2 separate regions of the Homo sapiens genome follow, and region 1 is linked to region 2. Evidence: promoter capture Hi-C in 16 types of primary human blood cells and fetal thymus (Javierre and others, 2016). All regions are on one chromosome and are shown on one strand. The core of a region is centred on a gene start or on the middle of the fragment in contact, and the rest is flanking DNA. Distances in the headings are between cores, read along the strand shown.

Evidence for each region. The method cuts DNA at HindIII sites, captures the fragments that hold promoters and counts their contacts. A CHiCAGO score of 5 or more calls a contact.
Region 1: a fragment that was not itself captured here is called in contact with the fragment with the promoter of ADPGK-AS1 in region 2 in 12 of 17 cell types (naive CD4 T cells, naive CD8 T cells, total CD8 T cells and 9 more); the score reaches 16.8 in naive CD4 T cells.

The regions. Positions count from the first base shown.
Region 1 is chr15:73,071,351-73,074,955 of GRCh38, forward strand. All of the region lies in intron 1 of NEO1 (neogenin 1), which reads left to right. Among named protein-coding and RNA genes, the nearest start is that of NEO1, 21 kb to the left of the region's middle. The HindIII fragment of the contact is 1,651 bases long and covers 1,089-2,739 here.
Region 2 is chr15:72,781,409-72,784,995 of GRCh38, forward strand. ADPGK-AS1 (ADPGK antisense RNA 1) reads left to right here and starts at 1,427. Exons shown (of 3, transcript NR_040107.1): 1 at 1,427-3,587. ADPGK (ADP dependent glucokinase) reads right to left here and starts at 2,350. Exons shown (of 7, transcript NM_001365225.1): 1 at 2,051-2,350. The coding sequence starts at 2,283. RefSeq lists enhancers at 1,726-1,795, 2,556-2,615, 2,666-2,875 and a silencer at 2,046-2,505. The HindIII fragment of the contact is 5,666 bases long and covers 1-3,587 here.

The DNA of each region.
Region 1 (3,605 bases), core at 664-3,163, 290 kb after region 2:
GATTTTGTATTCATAAAGTTTGAGAAACATTTTCTAAGTGCTGATTGAAAAGAACAGGATATTGCTTCAGAATTTAAAAGAAACAGTGTTTGAGAATGAACTCCTCCTCCAGGGAAAAATGTAATTTATGTATGATGGGGTAGTTGCTATTTATTCACTTAGATGTTTTTTGTTTGTTTGTTTGTTTGTTTTTTTGAGACAGAGTCTCACTCCATCACCCAGGCTGGAGTGCAGTGCTGCCATCACAGCTTACTGCAGCCTTGACCTTGTGGGCTGAGTTGATTGTCCCATCTCAGCCTCTCAATGGCTGGGACTACCATGCTTGGCTAATTTTTTGTATTTATTTGTAGAGACAGGGTTTTGCCATGTTGCCCAGGCTGGGCTCAAACTTCTAGGCTCAAATGATCGGCCCACCGTGGCTTCCCAGATTGCTGGGATTACAGGTGTAAGCCACCACACCTGGCCCACTTTTGTTTTAAGAAATGTCTTTATAACTGAATATTGAAAACAATTGCCGTTCTCTGAAAGTCTTTTAGTTGTTTTTCCATAGAAATGATCATACTATATCTGATGGCTTTTAATTTAATTTTGTTTGTTTGTTTGTTTGTTTGTTTTTTGAGATGGAGTTTCACTCTTGTCACCCAGGCTGAAGTGCAATGGGCCGATCTTGGCCCACTGCAACCTCCGCCTCCCAGGTTCAAGCGATTCTCCTGCCTCAGCCTCCTGAGTAGTTGGGATTACAGGCATGTGCCACTACACTCAGCTAATTTTTGTATTTTTAGTAGAGACAGGGTTTCACCATTTTGAACAGGCTGGTCTTGAACTCCTGACCTCAGGTGATCTGCCTGCCTCGGCTTCCCAAAGTGCTGGGATTACAGGTGTGAGCCACCGTGCCCAGCCAGCTTTTAATTTTTTTTTTTTAACTGTGAAATGTCATTAGAATTTGGATTGTATTTCATTAATGTAATATCTGGAAGATTCAAAGTTATAATTTTTAAAAGTTTTAATTTTGCTTTATTAACTGACTCAACTGTTGGACGGAAGCAGGAACATAAATGAAAAGGTCATCTGAAAGTCTCATGTATACAAGCTTTTTCTAACTCTCCAAAACAAGGTGAATTTCAGACAAATTCAGTAAACCTTTATTGAGTACATGTTGCATGCTCTATGTTGGGACCATGAGGATGATTAAAACTTACATCCTGTCCTGGTAAAGTTCACACTTGTGGGAATGAGATAGGGTAGGAATACATGTAAACAAGCGATTTGTGCTTTGCCTAAATTTAATGAATTTAAAAGGTTATTAAATAAAGTGACCATCATAATACATGAAGAAAAAGTGTGTGTGTGCTTGCGTGCATGGAGGTGGGGTTGTGGTGGTGATGGTCATGTTTCATACTTAGGCCCGTTGTAGTAGCCTAGGTAGTTTACAGAGGTAAATTGGATTAGCATGATGGCAGTGTAGAGAAGTACATGGAATAGAAAGATATTTAGATGATAAAGTAGAATTTGGTGATGGATTGGATATGGTGGTGAGGGAGAGGGACATGTCAAAGATGATTCCTAAGGTTCTTTAGGATTTGCATAGCAGGATGATGGGTGCTGATGTCTTTTACGGAGAAAGAACTAAGTTTGGGGGACAAGAAGAACATGCGTTTAATTTTGGACATTATGAATTTGATACACCTTTGTGATATCCAGGGGCAGCATTACAGTCTGGAGTGTGATGGAAGACATGGGCTGTAGATTTGTGAGTCATATGCTTAGAATGTGGTTGAATTGAGAAAGATGGGTTATTATAAGACAGAGAAGTGAGCGGAGAAGTAGGAGGAAAACTAGGAGAAGGTTGTATCACAGGAACCAAGGAGGAGAGTATCTGATTCTGCTGGCAGAATTAAGTATGCTGATGATTGGAGAGTCTTTTGCATTTACCTGTCAGTCACTGTTGACCTTACTGACAGCTGGAGATGGAATTTGGAAGCAGGTTGAGGGACAAGTGGGAAGGGAGGAAATGAAGACTGAAAAGTTCCAGAAATTTAGCCATGATGGGGATGACTGAATGTAGTGGTTGAGGTCTCATGAGTTGGGTGTGTGTGTGTGTCTGTTTAATGGATGAGATTCTGGAGCGTATTTAAAAATGGAAGGCTCTATTTGAGAGGGATAGTTTAAGTATGCAAGGAAAATGGGATAACTGACAGTGTAAGTTTCCTGGGAAGGTTGGGAGAACACGGGGTTTTGAGCACAAGTAGAAAGATTTGCATTCGACCCATTGTAGGAGAGAGAACTCTCCTTTAACGAGAGGGAAGGAACATAAGAACAGGTGAATATTATTGTTAATGAGGCAGTGAGGCCTTTTGCTGTACGTGATAAGCAGGAAATGGTTTTCAGGAGTGTTGAGGAATTGGTTGACCAGAGAGGTAGGATTACTATTACCAGAACTAATATGAGAATGTACCATACTAGGAGATTTAACAGGATTGTAAATTATATGGGAATAGTATTGTTTTCAGTGCCTTTTCCCCCTCATCTGCCAGGCCTCAGTGAGCCCATTGGAGATTGTAGATTCCCAGTAAGTATTTACCCTACTCTAGAATCTTAAATGAAAAATGCATAAACAGTAGCTACTCTTGTCTGACTTGAATTTTGTGGACTAATGATAGAATTAATAAGTGAAGGAGGTCTCTTACTATAACAGTGTTTAATTCACCATTTCAACAAATCTCTCCCTGCAGCCTACTAAGCTTTTTCTTTAATTAAGTACCTGATTTACACAGCAGATTTTACTCATTTGAGGACTCAAGTCATGTCTAAACAGATAAAGGTATCAGCTCAGGCATAGTTCAGGTACCTTGTAAATGCAATCAGAGTTGTTCTGCAGGGTAATTCAGTTTTAGACATCCATTTCTAAAAACGGGTTCTGTCTGAAAATGGAGGCCTTAATAACCAATTTCTCGTTATTCAGAGGCCAGTTATCTAGTTTATTTATCAAGATTAGGCAGTCACCTTGTTTTTCACTCCTTTCTAATCTCTCTGACTGTTTTGTTGTTTTAAACTCATGAGTAAGATAAGGAGAAGAAAAACAGAGAATGTACATAAATTAATGGCTAAAATGAAGTGTTCCTTTGCATGTTTCTTTTTCTTATGCTTTATTTCTGTGACTCATACGGAGCTGTTAGAAGTGACTTCATATAATATTATACAGTGTAATAAAATGGGTTTTCGATGTGTGAGGATACCCTCATGTTATTTAGATTATGGACACAATTAACAATTCCAGACAGAATTATTTTCTCATGTTTGAAGTAGTATAGGCACATGGCCCTTTATGGGAGGGGGGAAGCTCTTCTCTGTGTGCCCACTTTTCACATCCCTCTCCAGCATGACTCTCCCCTTTCTGTCAGTCTTACCCCAGGAGTCCCTGGCCTCCTTCCTCTCCTTGACACTGTTTGCTTTGCAAGCATATGAAATACTGGCACCCTATGACCAGGGTAGACTACAACCAGGGTTGGGGTGCAGGAGCCAGATGGAGAAATTCAAATTATGATCATGAGAACATGTTCCTCTAGGTAGTGGCCATACTTTTATCTCTATATCCTTAGGACGTA
Region 2 (3,587 bases), core at 177-2,676:
AACAAACCATGTACTTTTTCACATTTGGTTCTCTTGCCTAGGTGGACCTGTTCCCACTTTGGCTTGAAGAAATCTCATTTATTTAGTGTCTGTCCTATGAAAGTCACTGTAGTAAAATATATTTTCCAAGATGGTGGCAATAAGATGCCCCATTCCAAATGTTCTTTTCACAATGTGACACTGATGCTCCTCCCATCAAGGTTTGTTCTATGTCCCCTCCCTTAAAACCAGGTGGACCTGTGACTCTGGTAGAAGAGTTCCTATGTGCTTCTAAGGTAAGGTCGTAAAAGGCATTAAGGCTTCTGCCTGGTCCTCGTGGGTTGTTCCTCTTCTAACCATAATTGTTATGGATTGAATTGTCCACCCCCCACCAATTCATATGCTGAAACCCTAATTCCCAATGTGACTATATTTGGACGTAGGGCCTTTAAGGAAGTAGTTAAGGTTAAATAAGGTCATACGGGTGAGCCCTATTCCAAAAGGACCTAGTGTCCACATAAGAAGAATAAGAGGCACCAGGAGTGTACATGCGCAGACTAACTGAAAAGCCAGCTGGCTGCAAGCTAGGAAGAGAGGCCACATCGGAAGCCAATCCTGCCAACACCTTGATCTTGGACTATCAGCCTCCAGATCCACGAGAAAACAGATTTGTTGTTTAATCCACCTAATTTGTGGTATTCTGTTCTAGCAGCCCAAATGACTGATACAATAATATGTTTCCAACAAGTGAGACAGGGGCCTTGCTTCACCCATCTCTGTATCTTAAGAACCTAGCACAGACCTGACACTAACCATGTAGTTGGTGAATATCTGCTGAATGAACGCGCATAAAGCAAGGAAGGACAATTTAATCCCAGCACTTTGGGAGGCCAAGATGGGAGGCTGGCTTGAGCTCAGGAGTTCGAGACCAGCCTGGGCAATATAGCAAGACCTCGACTCTACTAAAAAAAATAAAATAAATAAAAAATTGGCTGGGCGTGGTGGTGCTTGCCTGTCGTCCCAGCTACTCCAGAGGCTGAGGCAGAAGGATCTCTTGAGCTCGGGAGTTCGAGGCTGCAGTGAGCAGTGATTGCACCACTGCACTCCAGCCTAGGCGACAGAGAGAGAGACCCTGTGTCCAAAAAAAAAAAAAAAAAAAAACCCCAAAATTATAGCTAATATCGAATGCTTTTTAAAGCAGGCACTATGCTAGAGAGATTACATGAATGATGTCATTTAATCTTCAGGCCAAGTTTGCTCTACTTTACCCCTCCCGGCCCCAACACTCCACAGAAAGTAGTGAGCTACATGGTAGAGGGCCTGCTTTTATGTGGTGGTTATACATAACTCTGAGATTACGGCAAGAAAGTCAAATCGAACTGAGACAGGGACTAAAGTTAGTGTTTACAGTATCAATACTATAAAGAAAATAATTACATTCCCAAGGAAAAGTACAAAGAAAGGAGGTAGTGTCATTTGGAAGAACCTTAAATATGCAGTGTCACTGAAGTCAGGGGAAGAAAAGAATTTCACGGAGAAGGGCGTGTTCAATGCGTGGAAGGCTGCAGAGTAGATAATGAAGATTCAAAAAGGCAAATCTGAGAGGAGTTGCAGTACAGTCGTGTGGTTTCTAGACTACACGGCGTTTCGAAAGTGGGTAAAGGCAGACATCACGCGTCTTCAAGAAGTTCAGAAGAAAGAGGAAGAGTGTTGTCATAGTGGGTAAGGTCAAGTATCTTTGATTGCAAAACAACAGTCGCCAGAAGAGAAGGGGCTAAAAGTTGGAACGAGGAAGAAGGCTCGGAGAAAGGTGTCAGACAAAGCGGGATTAGCAAGAAGCTGTTAGGGCTGGTCCTACCGGGATGAGAGAAAGGCGCAGAGGCCAGCCGAGTGGAAAGAGCAGCGGTGACGAACCGGGTTCCACTCAGACGTCCGACACTTCTCGCCAAGGGGCCAGCGCGGACAGCAGCGCCTCCCGGGGACCTCTGAGAAGCCCTGTTTCTGCGCGGCTCCGCCCGACCTCCAAGGCCGACCTCGGAGGCTCAGAGACCCAGGCCCCGTTGGCACTCACCCCACTGCCACGCGGCGCCAGCGCCGGACTGGCCGCACGATAAGCGCGTCCCAGGCTGCCGCCAACCGGCCCTCGGGGGAGACGGGTCCCGGGGGCGCAGGCGCGGGCCCCAGACACAGCGAGCTCCAGAGAGAGCGCAGCGCCGAGCCTGGCAGCTCTGGCTCCAGCAGGAAGACGCAGCCCACGGCCAGCGCCAGGAAGCCCGCGTACGCGGAGCCGCGCCACAGCGCCATGGGGACCCAGGCGCCGCACCTGCGCGAACCAACTCCTTTCCTAGCCCGCGCCTCTTCCGGGCTCGGCGCGCGCCGATGTCGACACAAGCGCTACGTCACAAGGGTGCGCCACGGGGCCCCCCAAGGGGCGGGGCGACGGGCGGCGCCAGGACGGAGCGAGGGGGGACCCCACGCCTCAGTCCCAGGCCTGGCACTGCGGTGTTGCCGCCCCGGAGGAGGTGGGACAACGGCGGTTGTGCCAGTCCGGGCGCTGCACCCCCTTCCCGGAACTCTAATCGTATCCCCAAATAGAGGGATGGGAACACATTTGCTTTCGCAGTAAAACGAAACGGACAGATTGTGAAGAAGCGGACAAACCTCGCGTTAATATTCGAACCAGTGGGTGTCCCCATTGGCACGGATCACACCCCCATCTTTTAATCCCTCCCTCCGCCCGTGTCCCCTCATTTGCTAGACTTGTCCTCTTCCAGGCCTAGTGCTCGGCGCTTCTGAGAGGAATAGGCTCACAGAATAGCGGCGCTGCCGAGACCCCTGGGGTACGCGAGGCAGGGGGATTCCGCCCCTTTGGAAGGTGGCCGAGACCCTCAGCCACTAAAGGACTTCGTCGAGACAGGAGAGCCCGCAGAGATCGTTCTCTTCTGGATAACCAGATTATTCCACAATCAAACTTTAACCCTTTTGGGGGCGCTGTTCCCTTTAACAAACTCTGGAAAATGTACACAATCTTGTGCACAACACGAGAGTTATGGACCTGGGTTGAGAAACGCTGCTTTCTTTTGTTCCCCCTTGGTGACATCACTTAAACCCAGCCCTCTCTTCGCTGATACTTTTCTGTGCATGAGGCTAGGTTGAGAGACAGTGAAGCTAGGCTGGGTACCAGCTCATTCTCATCAGCCACAATGCCCGGCCTAGTCTTGTTCCCTGGTTTGTTTCCACTTTTCCAATTCTCTCGGCTCCTGACCTTGGCTTTGTGTCCAGTTTTCCACTGTGACCCTGACCTTTGGACTTGGCAGCGAAACTTTATTTCCCTAACTTTGATCTTGGGCATTAGTCTTCATTCTCCTCAGCCCCACCTCATCAGAACTTCCCCATCCTGGTCATCTACCTTCCCGCAGTTCATCCTACCCAGCCTACCTGACCATGCCATCCCTTTCGACAAAGATATTCACACAGGAACAGATTTGGGCTACCTTGGAAAAGAAGCCAAAGAGCCAGTCAGATCTTTATGAAGCCATGAAAGCCATCTTCCCTAGAGTTGCCTGTCACTTCTCTCTCCTTAGGGAGACATGTCAGTCAGTTCCTAG